2 separate regions of the Homo sapiens genome follow, and region 2 is linked to region 1. Evidence: promoter capture Hi-C in human tissues and cell types (Jung and others, 2019). All regions are on one chromosome and are shown on one strand. The core of a region is centred on a gene start or on the middle of the fragment in contact, and the rest is flanking DNA. Distances in the headings are between cores, read along the strand shown.

The links. The method cuts DNA at HindIII sites, captures the fragments that hold promoters and counts their contacts. A contact is called where the count stands out against the background at its distance.
Region 2: a fragment that was not itself captured here is called in contact with the fragment with the promoter of KRT85 in region 1 in 1 of the 25 tissues and cell types used here (bladder).

Annotation. Positions count from the first base shown.
Region 1 is chr12:52,364,378-52,371,180 of GRCh38, forward strand. It overlaps KRT85 (keratin 85), which reads right to left and starts at 3,104. Exons shown (of 9, transcript NM_002283.4): 1 at 2,609-3,104; 2 at 585-793. The coding sequence starts at 3,028. RefSeq lists an enhancer at 5,656-6,155. The HindIII fragment of the contact is 10,604 bases long and covers 1-6,803 here.
Region 2 is chr12:52,533,790-52,540,592 of GRCh38, forward strand. No RefSeq gene overlaps it. Among named protein-coding and RNA genes, the nearest start is that of KRT71, 16 kb to the right of the region's middle. The HindIII fragment of the contact is 6,747 bases long and covers 1-6,330 here.

The DNA of each region.
Region 1 (6,803 bases), core at 1,854-4,353:
AGAGAGAAGGTCTGGAGCTGAGAAACTGGACCTTGAATACCATCCCAACTCCTGGGCAAGTTCTTCCGGGGATTGAAAAGGGATTAATCCCCTCCAGATGTTGTCTTGGCCCCTCCAGGATCTATTTTTTGTATTATTCATGGGCCAGCCCTTGTCCTAGCCTGGCTTCATTCCGCCGCAGTCCTTCTGCCTCTGAGATGGGGTTAGGAATGCACATTCCTTCCCCCAAGTCTAAAATCATCTGTGCATCCTAGGTCCCAAGAGAGCTGGTTCCATTGGCAGGGAGATCACAGAGCCCATGTCATAAAGGTAAGCTGTGAAGGACAGGGACATAGAGAGTGCTAGAATTCCACTGGATTTCCTCTCTTCATTCCCCCAGAAGTAGCTCTAAGGCTCACAGGGGTGGAGTCTTAGAGGTGAATCCCAGGAATCTGAAGAAATCTAGGCCCCACTGGATATCTGCTCTGGGTTCCAGGCAGCCTGCTAGAGGAATCTGAAAGAAGCTGTGGCAAGAGGGCTATGGGCAGAGCCTCCCAGCATTCTCTCTGAGTTTCCCCTGAGTCCCCCCAGCTTGCTGCACTCACTTCTTCTTGTAGCCCTCCAGCACCTCCTGCACATGGTTGAGCTCTGAGGCCAGCCTCCCGCTGTCGGCCTCCACGCACTCGGCCTCCCGCCGCAGAGTCTCGATGTAGCCACTGAACAGTGGCTCCAGGTTGCTCTCGCAGCAGCGCTGGTTCTGGTAGAACTGCCACTTGGTCTCCAGCAGCTTGTTCTGCTGCTCCAGGAAGCGCACCTGCCATTCAGGTGGAAAGAAGAAGTCAGAGGGAGCCTGGGGGGAGGCACCTGGTCCCCCACAGTCTCTCTGCCCTCGGGTGCTGGCTGAATGGGCTGAGCCATAAAGCTGAGTGTCTGCGGCTCAAGGGGCCCATTCCCAGGCCCCCAGGGAGGCAGTTGTGGGTGTGAGGGAAAGCAGTCTGACTCAAAGCCAAAGGTCTGTTTCGAGCCCCAGTTTTGATACTTTAGAGAGCAAGTTGTTTAACCTCCTGGGGCTCAGTTTTCTCCTTTCCAAAATGGAGCGAATAGTGTCTGTCTTAGCACTGTTGTGAAGCTTGAACAAGTTAATGCATATCAAGTGCTTAGAACAGTCCCTGACACGTAGTAAATGCTCAGTCTATTTAACTATTATTATAATTACCAGTTGCCCTTCACTTGCTCATTTATGCAACAAACACTTATTAAATATTTACTACTTAGTGCCAAGGCCTGTGGTAAGATATACACATCCATGTCTAATGTCTGTGTCTATGTCTATATCATCTAACTATGCATTCCATTCAATTATCACAGCCCTGTGGGATGTAGATATTACTTACCCCATGTTGCACATGGGGAAATTGAGACCCCCAAGGTGTGAAATGCCCAGCTCATGGTAAGCGATAGTCTTGAGATAGGCATGCTCTGCCTCCCCCTACAGCATGTCTGAGATGCTCGTATACACCCCCTTAGCTCCAAGTTGCTGTCTGATAAGTGGAGACGCTGATACCCACTCCAACCCGTCACTGTGAGGATGGACTCAGATCACTAAAGAAAGAGTGAAAACGTGAAGGTGACTGCCTCTGCCCCCAAACCCTGATCCTAGGCCCCCAAAGCTGCTCCTTCTGCTCTGCTAGAGGCCTGTGGACACAGGAGGAGCCTGTGAAGGAGGCTCCCAGCCTCCCCCGACAAAACTTTCTTGGGAGGCAGCCTCACAGCTATGCAGCGTTCTCCACACTCTGGCTGCATTAGGGGGCCTCCTCCTACCAGCCTGGCCACCTCCCTGTCTGCATTTCAGCCCTCTCTCATGAAGGGGCTGCCAGGCCTGGGTTGGCTGTCACACCTCCTCACCTACCACTGTCCTTGGAAAATAATGATAGTAGCAGCTAACATGTATTGAGTGCTGACTATTTGCCATCATGTTTCATGCATGGACTCATTAATTCCTCACAGGTGGATGAGGCAGTCCTGTTATTCAGCAGAGTAACCTGCCTGGGGTCTCACACTGCTGAGTGATGCAGCAAGGACTTGGGAGAGGCAGCATGGCTGTGGGCATTACCCCAGCCCCTTCACGGGCTGCCTGGCTAGGAGCCACAAGGTCTTTTGGTCTCCCCGTTATCTCCCACTCTTCCAGCACCTGCTGCCCAGTCTGGTTTTTCAGACACAGTTCTGATAGTCCTATGTCGTCTTGGCTCAAGAAACACACACACGCTCACACACATGTACACACTCACATGCATACACACACATATGCTCACACACATGTACACACACACATATACACACCACACACTAACATACGTACAGGCGCACACACCGCTACACACACACACATGTACACACACACACATGCACACACTTTGGATCACAGGCTCAATTTCTAGACCACACCTGGACCTCGTTAAATGCTGCGGGAGTTAAGTGATGGAAACTGACCCTTCCACCTGTATGGGTCTGCACGTCATTCCCTCTGCTGCCTCAAACCGGCAGCCATCCTGTCTCCTCAGCAGACTGGGACCTCCCCAAGGGAGGACAGGGCTGGAGGCTTCTCTGGGCCGTCTCAGGCCTCACCCACCTTGTCGATGAAGGCCGCGAACCTGCTGTTGAGGGACTTGATCTGCTCCTTCTCCTCCTGCTTCACGCACTGTGCGTTGGGGTCGATCTCCAGGTTGAGGGGCGTGAGGAGGCTCTCGTTGACCGACACGGTAGTGATGCATGGGGGGCTGGGTCCGCACACGCCCCCGGAGCGGTAGCCGAAGCTGCGTCCGCAGGAGCCGGCTCGGAAGCCACCTACAGCTATCCGGGGCCCGCAGGAGCCCAGGTTGCAGAGGCTGCGGCTGCCGAAGCCCGTCAGCCCTCGGTAGCAGGACACCCCTCGGTAGGGGGCGGCGCTGATGCAGCAGCGGTTGCCAGTTTTGGGGGCCACAGCTGAGCAGGAGCTGAAGTTCCTGGTGACCCCGCATCCTGAGCTGATCCTGTAGGAGCGGCACGACATCGTGTGAGGCTGAGCAGAGTCTGAGAGGCAGCGGAAGGTGGTGCGGGCGGCAGAGTGCGAGGCTCAGGATCCTTCTGCTCTCTCTGATCCTCCCTGGTCCTTTTATTGGTGGGGAGAGCTGGGGTTGGCTGCATAAAAGGAGTGGAAAGCCATTTTATGTTGTTTATGGGCTTGGGGAGTTTGCCAGCAACTCCCCACGGACTCATCTTAAAGGTGAGCTCAGCAGCGACTCTGGGGCTCCCTGAAGTCTTGAAGATGTTATTAAGGAGACTGCATTTGAACTTTTCATCTTCAAAGCTCGTTTACATACATTAAGTAATTAATTTTCTCACAGTCTTTCTGTGAGATGGCCTCAACCCACACTTGGAGACGGATTTGAACTCCACAACAGCCTGGGGGTGGCTGGGTTTGGGATACAGGCAGGAGCCATTGTCTCAAGGGAGAGGTTGGAGGGTCCTGGGTTAGGTGAGACTTGGGGGATCATTGCATTCATCTATCTGGTTCCACAGAGGACACATTCTCAAGTAAATCATTGCATTTCAGGGGCCAATAGGTCAGGCGAATCCCACCCCATCTAGGCAGCATTGCTTGGAAGGTGGTTCAGGACCAGAGCGGTCATTTTGACCATGCCCGTGCCAGGATAAAAGGCTGGGGCAGATGATCTCTTGGAACCTTCTGGATTCCAGCCCAGAAGGCGCTGGTCCAGAGCTTTCACTTCTCACCCAGCAAAAGTGCAAACCACAGAACTCTCAGTGGCCACAATAATGGCTACTTGCGGATTATGGGGAGACTCCCTCTAGCCACTTTCTTCCATTCGGTCAAAAGGATTGGAGAACTCAACCTTGGGATAACCTGGGGGCTATAAATTTGCTGTGGGCACCTTTGCTTTGCTCTTTAAGAAGAAACAGGTCATGTGAGTCTCCCTTCCCAGACCACCAGCTACAAGAGGTATTCCTTCTGTTGGCCAGCCCTTGAATTGTCATCCCTAGAGGAGTGTTTAGAGACTGCATTGCACAAAGCTGGAAGTGGGATAGTGGTTTATTCTTGTCTAAGGTGGCTATGACTTCTGGCTCCTGGGGGTTCTGGGAGCCCCATCCTTCTAGTTTCTGCTTCCCTGTGTGTCCTTGGGACACTTATTAGGATAACAAGTGCTATTCTTTTAATGTTTATGGAGTACAAACCTTGGGGATGTGGGTCTGCCCCCAGGAAGGTTAGCCAGACACCCAAGTGTTAGGAACTTAAGGAAGAAGAGCCGATGAGCTTCCTCAGAGGGTGACTCCTCCTCCAGGAAGCCTTCCATAACCAAACACTGCCATCATGCTGCTGTTCTCATAAGTCCTTCACGAAATGCCCTGTACTCTGTCCTGCATCTGCTCTAATCTCCACAGCCAGCTGACCTCACCCAGGACCTTCACCCAGGATCAGGCTGATCGATTCCCACCTCACCTCCACATTCCACATTGTTCTTCAGGGCAGGGTAGAGAGACCTTGGCAGCTGGTGGGGGAAGAGCAGGTGGTCTCACCAGCTGACCCTAGAACATATGCAGATCATAATCATCCATGGAAAAGCAACTGCGTTTGGCAACCCGGGCAATGGAATCAAAGCTGGAAGACCTGGTTCAAGGGCCAGTTTGGATCCTTCCTAGCTGTATGGTTTTGGAGGAAGTTCTTAAACTCTCTGAGCCTCTGTTTCCTTAACTGTAATGTGGATTCATCCTTACCTTCCCGGGCTGTTGGGAGGGTGAAGAGGATGATATGTGAGGGAAAGCTCTGTGTAAAGGAAAGGGACTGTTGCTTTCCACGAGAAACATTCCCACCTGCCTCACCCAGCAGAAAGGGCTGTTCCTTGCCCTGCCACAGCCTTCACCTCCTCTGCACATTTATGACTCCTTCACCCTTTCAAGACTGCTTTTAATGTTTTTTTTTTTAGTCTGATTTCACTTGTATAGCAATTTTGGGTGGAGTCTGGGGACAGAGAGAGGAGGCTGTATGGGGGAGCTCAGTGTGGGGCCTATTGCTGGGATACAGGGATGTTTGGACAGTGAGTTCACTGACTGACTGCCATGTAGACCTGGAGCTGGTGTGGTATGGGCCAAGAGGGATTCCTGGAGAAGGGTGGGGTCCGAACGTGGCAGGTAGAGGGGACTGAAAGCCCAGAAACACCTGCCTCTCTCCACAACTCCCGTAAGCCTCTGCCCTCCTCCAGGTTCTTAAAGATGATGGGACCAGAGACATTTCTCTTCCTTCTTGGGGGCAGGAGGTTTTGTCCTGGAGGGAGGCTCCTGTTTCAGCTGCTTTCCCTTGCACCCAACACACACCCCATCCAACCCTCCACCCTAAATGGGAAGGGAAGGTGGGGCCAGGGGATTCAGGAGTCTGGGGGTATTCCACTGTTTCCAGAGCTAAGATACCTCTACAGGACCAGCAGGTCTGTCCAGCCCAAGGGTATGAGCCCCTTCGAGGGTGTGCGGGGGTGAGACAGGCCCACCCTGCCCACAGGAATGTGCTCGTGCGTGCTGGGTGAAGCTTGCATCACTGCTGATGGCAGTGCTGAGCCCAGGGCTGGGGCTGGGGGCTTCCCAGGATGCTGTCCAGGTGGAGCTTCGGATTGGAGGAGCTGGACTGAGGGCAAAGCCTTGAGGGGAGCAGATTCCTTACGGGGCTGGCCCCAGGTGGTCCAGGGCCAGGGAGCAAGTCAGGCCAGGTGGATCTGGCACAGCTGCCCTGGAAAGACCTGGGCCTTTGCTTATGGTTCTACCCAGGGAGGACACAGAGAACACATAGCCTCCTGCCTGCCTCTAGCCATCACCCAACCACTCTGCCCAGTGGAACCCAAGTCGTTGCCCTGAGAGTCAGGATCTTTTGGGGGCTGGGAGCCCCATCTCCTTTCAGTGTCTCACCCTCATTCACTGTGCCCTCATTCACCTGTGCCCTATTGCATCCCTCTTCCTTCCACCAACCTTCTCCCTGTTACACCTTGGCCTGGAATGTCTCAGAATAGCTGCCTCTTCCAGGAAGGCTTTGTGAGCTCATCGGGGGAGGCTGTGATTTCTCCTCCCTGCTGTCTCATAAATGCCCTCTCTGGGGCTCCCCAGGTAACTCCATTTATCCCCTTCTACACTCTCTTGTCCTAAGGACTGTCACTCATCACCTCCTTTGGCTCTGTCCCCTCTTGTACCCTGCACCTTTTGAAGGCCCCATCTAGTTTCGGGAATCTGAAGAATCCACGACCTTCCCATAATTTAAACTGCTCCCAAGTGGCTTCTTCTTCCAGAAAGTCTTCAAGAACTACTTGAGGAGAGAAGTTCTTTACTCTACCCTGGAGCTCCAGGCAACCTCTGAGACCTCCTGTGAATCTGCTCCACTCCAGAGGTACATATTCTGGGGTTTTCTCAGAGGCCTCACTGCTCCCACCTCAGCCCCACTCTCAGGCGGTGCTTTTTACCTGAGCTGGGATGCTCCCTGGGGCAGCTGGCTCTCCCCAACCCCAGAGGCCCACTACCTCCCTTCCCTTCTGCTTTTTCTACTGTGCTAAAATCCCCTCCTTCCAGGAAGACTTCCTGGATTTGTCCAAAGACAGGAGGGTGCTGACACCTTCCCCATCCTGCACTGTCTGTCCTCCCAGTTTTGTGTTTGTGCCTGCCTGGGCTCTTGTGGGTTGTCTTCCCATCCCTCCTAGTGGGCTGGTCCCCCTCAGTCAGTCCTGATGGGCTCCCCATGGACAAGGCCTGCACAGCTGATTCAAACTGGGTACCGCCCTTTGCCTCTGCTGGCC
Region 2 (6,803 bases), core at 1,707-4,206, 170 kb after region 1:
CAGAGTGAGGAGTCTGCAGGGCCAAGGGCCATGCTCATGGGGTCCACACTCCCCTTCTAGACCCGCTCAGCTACCTAAAACCCCAGCATTCCCTCCCCAGTGACTCCCAGCCCACGCTCAGGCCTGTCCTCTGGAGAGCAGACTGCCGGGTGCTGGGCACACCTCTAGGCTGTCTGCAGATTGTGGTTGTGTAGGCAAGGGAGCAAAGCCAGGGGTAGGAAGAGAAAGGGGCAGGCTGCAGGCCAGGAGCTGGGAATTCTCTCCATGCTGCCACATTCCAGAGTTCTGGAACTCTGACGAGTCCAAAATTAAAATCTCCAACTGAGCCTGGCCTACTGGGTCCGTCTGTGGGAGACTCAAACCTCTTGGTCCACTGGCCTGGAGACATTTTAGAAGTGGAGGCTTTGTCTCGGAGCATGGAGGGGATAGGCCTGCCTGGGCTCCCGGCCTGCTGACTGTGTTCTGCTTGACACCAGGCCAGCTGGGCTAAGCGTTCAGATGTAAAGAGGAAGCTGCTGGGGCCTCCTGACAGCAGATGCAAAGCTGAGGTACCCAAACACCTCGACCTTTCTCAGGGGCTCATGTAAGCAAATTGCTTTATCAGCTTTATCAGTTTTTACATTTTCCTTACGCATTTTCATAGAATTTGCCCCATATTCCATGCCATTTTCTCAGGACATCCTTTTGAGCATCCTGGACCCAACCGTCTTCATATAAGAAGAAAAATTTTAGTTTTGGTTTCATCCATGATTATCCTAGACCCAAACATTTAGAAATAAGTTGTTATATGGAATAGCCACCCGAAGGTGTGAGTTTGGGCATAAAAAGCACACATTGCATATATCCTTATCTGTATAGAGTCACGTGGACCTGATTCTGCCACCTTCTGGCTGCGTCACCTGGGGCAAGTTATTTAACGCCTCTAAGCCTCAGGTTCCCCATCTGTAATCTGAAGCCCTGGCCTAGTAGATCTCTAGATAAACTCTAACATCACTCCTACCCCTAAAACTCTGGTACTTACCCCCTTTACTCTTCCTTCTTTATTTTGCATTCAGCCCAGGGATCTCATCTTCCCAAAGCTTCTTTCATGTTCCTGCCCCTTTTACCTTCACAGTTCCTGACATTGGAGAAGGCAGTGTTTTAAAGCCCAGCTCCAATGCCCTTTAATCCAGAAAGCCACACTCTTCAGTCGCTACATTGGAAGACCCACCTTGGAGGCTGGACGGAAACCTGGGGGTTCACCCAGCTCAACCCCCTCATTTAACAGGAAGGGAAACTGAGGGCAAAATGAGGCAGTGACTTAGAGACAGAGCCAGGTCTGGAACCCAAATGCCCTTTAACCTTGCCACCTCTGGGATCCACAACCCTCAGGGCCACCATTTTAACTTGCACATATTATTATTACTGTGATCATCTGTGCTTCCTTAGAACCTTAATACCTCTGAGGGCCAGAATCACATTGTGTTCATTCTGTAGCCACCCTGTCCTGCGCCAACCCTCCAGCATCATCCCTGTACCAGATGGTACCTCAATAAGTGTCTGTTAAGTTTCACTAAACATAAATCCCATTTTGATCGTTGCAAAAAAACCACGTCTCATTTGAAGACCTCCCTGTGTTCTTATATCTGACTACTGTTGTGGTAGAGCAAACTGAAAGGGTTTGCAAAAGCCGATTGTTAAATTTTGAAGAACGTTGTGAGCTGTTATTAAACATAGCCATAATTCAAATTAAATTATGTAAAATTATAGTTAAATACATTGCATTAAAAACAAAGGGAAGAAATGTTTAAAACTCATCATTTTCTAATTTTATTATACTTTACTTTGATATATTATCAAAGTTCTTGTGGTTGTTGACATTTATTGAATCTACATGCAGAAATCCCCTACCATGGTGTTCACATCTCTTTCCAGCCTGTAATCAGTGACATCATGTTGGTAGCTTGAAATCACCTTTGTGGGAGAATTTACCCCAAGCGAACTGGCAAGCACTACAAATCAGAGCTTGGTTTATTGTTTGGTTGATTGTCTGGAGCTGCACAGCCTCACACAGCTGCCACTAGTTCCATGTGGCTAACTGAGCACTTGAAATGTGGCTAGTCCAAGCTTAGATATGTCATATGTACTGGATATTGAAGATTCAGAATGGAAGAAAAGAATGTAAAATATATCATCAAAAATGTTTATATTGATTATCTATTGAAAGAATAGTGTTTTCTATATATTATGTCAAATATATTAGAATTAATTTAGTCTATTCCTTAAATGTGGCTACTAGCAGATTTTAAATAATATCTGTGGCTTTCATTGCATTTCTACTGGACAGCTCTGGTCTAAATTTAATAAAGTGATGGGGAAAATGTTTATAACGTAGATTAAAATTAAAAGTATGTTGTGCCCATTGATAATAACATTATGAATAGCCAAAAAATACAAAATAATATCCCGGTATTTAAAACCCATTATCTGATTCAGCCAAAAAGTCACTCACATCATTGAGGAGCAAGTAAGTTCCAACATTCATCTTCATCATTTCACGTTCATCTTAACTGTGAAGATGAACATGGGAGCTAACATTCATGTGGGGGCTATGCTGGTTTGTTGGTTGCAGCCACTGGCCAGCCATGGGCATAAGAGTTTGTCAAAAGCCAACTGAAAGCATTCCATGAGGGTCACTTGGCTGTATCAAGTTTATAATAAAGAGTATTGTAGGGCTGGGCACGGTGGCTCACGCCTGTAATCCCAGCACTTTGGGAGGCCGAGGTGGGTGGATCATGAGGTCAGGAGATCGAGACCATCCTGGCTAACATGGTGAAACCCCATCTCTAATAAAAATACAAAAAATTAGCCGGGCGTGGTGGCGGGCGCCTATAGTCCCAGCTACTTGGGAGGCTGAGGCAGGAGAATGGCTTGAACCTGGGAGGCGGAGCTTGCAGTGAGCCGAGATGGTGCCACTGCACTCCATCCTGGGCAACAGAGCGAGCCTCCGTCTCAAAAAAAAAAAAAAAAAAAGACTTGTAGATTTTATTATTATTTGTAAACTGTATGCTACATATCTAATATAGCAGTAAAACTTCTAGTAAACTTATAACATAAACATAAATACACATTTACATGTATATATATTTGTATATATACACATCTATGCATTTTTTCAGAGAGCTGGTTGTTAGGCTCAGCAGCACACTTTAGTTACCAGCACACCACTGTCTCCACCCCTCTCGCTACCCTGTGAGCCCATTGCCCAGGCCCTGTCCTTTGTGGCACTGACAGCCTGTCCCTTCCCTTCCTTCATTTTCCAAATCCGCAGAGTCTCAGAGGTGTGGACTAGAGGTCCCTGCGCCTCCTCTTCCCCTCCTCCCTTTTTTCCACTTTGGACATCTTTTTCAGTCTATTCTCCACTCCACTGTCCTGCCTCCCATCCCAGTTTGTAGACACGTGCCCTGGATAGTCAACCACAGTGCCACAGAGATGTCATTCCCCAGGTTGGCACTCAGCCCCAGCCCTGCCTGCCTGCTCTTGCCCTTCGGTACTGGCTGCTGACAGGCCTGGCACTCAGGATGTCAGGTGGTGACTAGGTCTCCCACCTGTCTGCTAGTCTTTTCTAACCCCATCAAAGATAGCTCTGAAGCAAGACCAAGGGGTGCCTACATCACAGAGAGGGGAGTCTGTGCCAGTGAATGGTGTCCAGAGCACTGGGGACACAGCTCTGCGGCTCTGCAGGTTTCTTGTAATCGCCATCATCGCAAACACCTTGTGCAGCCTGCAGCAATTCTGCCATGAACACCACACACAAAAAACACTACACCACCCAAGCTGTGCCCACCAGGAACCTCCAGGATGCAGGGGACACATTGATCAAGACTTCCAAAGGTCGAGGAGGGGGTACTTGGGGGTAGAAGTAGCAATCCTGTTTAAAGTAAATCATGAACTTTGGAGCAAGGCATGGCCTTAGAAGGAGACTCCAAGAGTTCGGTTCAGGGAGAAGTACAGGGGAAAGTTCCACTGCAGTGGGGTGAGATGGAGAAGGAAGTTAGAGACTGAAGCTCTGATTAGTCCCCTGGAGGAGGCAACATTTCAGAAACGTGGTCTAAAATACACTGGTCTAGGGCACAAGAAGAAGGAGGAGGAGACAAGTACTCCCGCTGCTGGGAAATCGATTTAGGACTAGAGTCCCCAGTGAACCCCTAAAAATTACCCACAGTTTCTAGGGTAGGTATTATTGTATCTAATAATAGTAATCATTTATTGCTATAGCTAACATTTATTGAGCTCTTACTATGGGCCTGGGATTTTATGTCTCAAACAAAAAGATGCAAAGAAGTAGTTATTATTATTATTATTACTGTTATTGTTATTATTATCCTCACTTCTACAGAAGCGAAAAGAGACTCAAGAAGATTAAAGAACTTGCTAAGTGTGGCAGCCCTGCTGGAGGCTGGGCCCAGAGCCAGGCCCCTCACCCCTGCAAGGCATCGCTCCTGCAGGATCGTCGTCACCCTCATCATCGCCATCCTTGTTCCTGACAGGCAGGAGATCCTGGTATTTTTCTGTGTGCTTCCCCTTCTCCATCCCTTTTGGTGATTTTCTGAACATTGTGCAGTTGACAGTGTGGTCATATTCCCATCGTGTAGATGAGGACCCTGAGGTACAAAGAGGTGACATGGGAAATGCTGAGACAGGGCGCAGGTTTGATGTGTTTCTCAGTAGTCTGAAGCAATTGAGAAAAGTAAGTGCAATGCAGTAAATCTTTCATGGGGCTAGCTTGACTTTATCTAAAGGGCTGAGCTTAGTCTGAGAGAATGTCCTTCCTACTGTTAAATTGTCCTTTTCTTTTATGAAATGATGACGGTAGTGGGTGGTGATTGTTGCACTCTTAATGTCCAATTTTGGCAAAATAAAAGGCTGGCTCTCTGGAGCTCCAAATCAGCCCCAGCAGCTGATGTGAAATGCTGTTTGATGATGGTTGACTCCTAACGTCTGACTGTAGTGGTCTGGAGGCTCTGGGCCTGGCTCAGGGCTCCCTCACTGCACATCTCTTCCAGCCAAAGCATTTACCCAGGGACACCTACGCTGCTCACAAACATGAAGGATGCTCAAAGGTGTGGCCCTGCCACCTCCATCTGAGTTGGGAAAATGCCTTCCATTACCCCTGACCATGGATTAAGGGGTCTCAGATCCAGAGAGCCCTGAGGCTGAGCTGGACTTGCCTGGGAGGATGTGCAGAGGGAATGCCCCAGCCTTTCTGGCTTCAGAGGGTGCAGTGTCCCCACCAACTCTCTTTCCAAACCTGCCTCAGCCTGCATGGGGCCCCTTTCCCTGGTACTCACTTTGTTTGCTTTGGGGAGAAAATCGAGAAAGAATCTTCCCTCTACCCTCCCTTGTCCCAGCCATCCCTAAAGCAGTCCAGTGTTATGATTCATCCACCTTTTATTTGCTTCAAGGATTTTCCATGGCATCTCAGAGGCCCCTCTCTTCCCATTTGGCTGGATTCCAAGACCATTAAAGATCTATTCAAACAAACAAACAAAAAAATCTGGATCGAGTGAGGGCAGCTGGTTCCCATTTGGCTCAGCTGTGATCCTGAAGTTTCTGTGTTATGGTGTAGCCTTCATTTCTGGATCATCAGTGGATTTCTCTACCGCTTTCACTAGCACCAGCTGTGGACTGCAATTGTACTCTAGTCAAGTATGGAGGGAATAAGAAATAGTTATGGCAGAAACCTGGGCTTGAAAATGCATCTCTCCTTGAGCTGGCACTTTGAGAAGGCCACAACTGAATGAAGGGACATTAGAGAGTGAGCCTCAGGTCAGGCTGCAGGCCTGGGAAGGCCAAGGGTAGAGCCAGCTGGGAAGAGACAGTCCTCATTGCTGGCCATGGAGGGAGTGAGCTGTTGGGAGCAAGGGCCCGTGTGGCTGGAGGGTGAAGGTCAGATGTAAGGTAGAACTTTTCTAAAGCCAGGATGGGAGACAAGATGGCCATCTCCAGCCTGCTGGACCACCACACCAATGTCTGAAGAAAGGCCCGTGCCCGGAAGAGGCCACTTGCACGGCCAGCCCCATCTCCTCTCTCCCTCTCCAGAGCCTTCTTGCTGGTCTCAGGTTTCATTCTGATGGTTCTGCTCCCAGTTAACTCAGCTCAGGATAAGCTGTCCACCCCAGTCTGCTCCAACCTCTCTCCCTCCAAAGTCACGCCCACCCTCCACACCCCAGTTCCACCTCAGTCCACCACCTCCTCCCTCTCCCAACTCCTCCCTGTCCCCATTGCTTCCTGTGGGTCCCACACCTCCTGCATTGCTCTAGCCACCTCTGGACCAGGGCTTCAAGGAAGGCAAAAGTGGAGCTGAGTCCTAGGCACTGTCCAGACACCCCCAACACTGAGAGGATCCACCTCCACGGCCTGGAAGTGACAACAGGCCACAGCCTCTGCGGGCAGCATGCAGTAGGAAAGCCCAGGGAAAAGGGACCCAGCCAGTGCCTGGGACCCAGAGACATCAGGCTTTGGCTGATGGAATATGATAGAAGTGCCAACAGAAAATGGGCAGGGAGCCTGCAGGACATCAGGGGAGGGTGGAAAGGTGCAGCCGCAGGGGCACAGAGTTCCCATCCCGGGAGGCAGGGCAGTGGTGTGGAAAGAGTGTGGGTTATGGAGAGACAGACCTCACCGGATTCTGGCTCTGCAGCCCTGGGATTGGTATGTCTCTGCCTTGGGAATAATAACACCCACCTCAGAGGGATGATGAAGGAGCTGTGCCCAGCCTCCAGAGCCTGGCCCATGGAAGGTGCTCCACAAACATCAGCTTC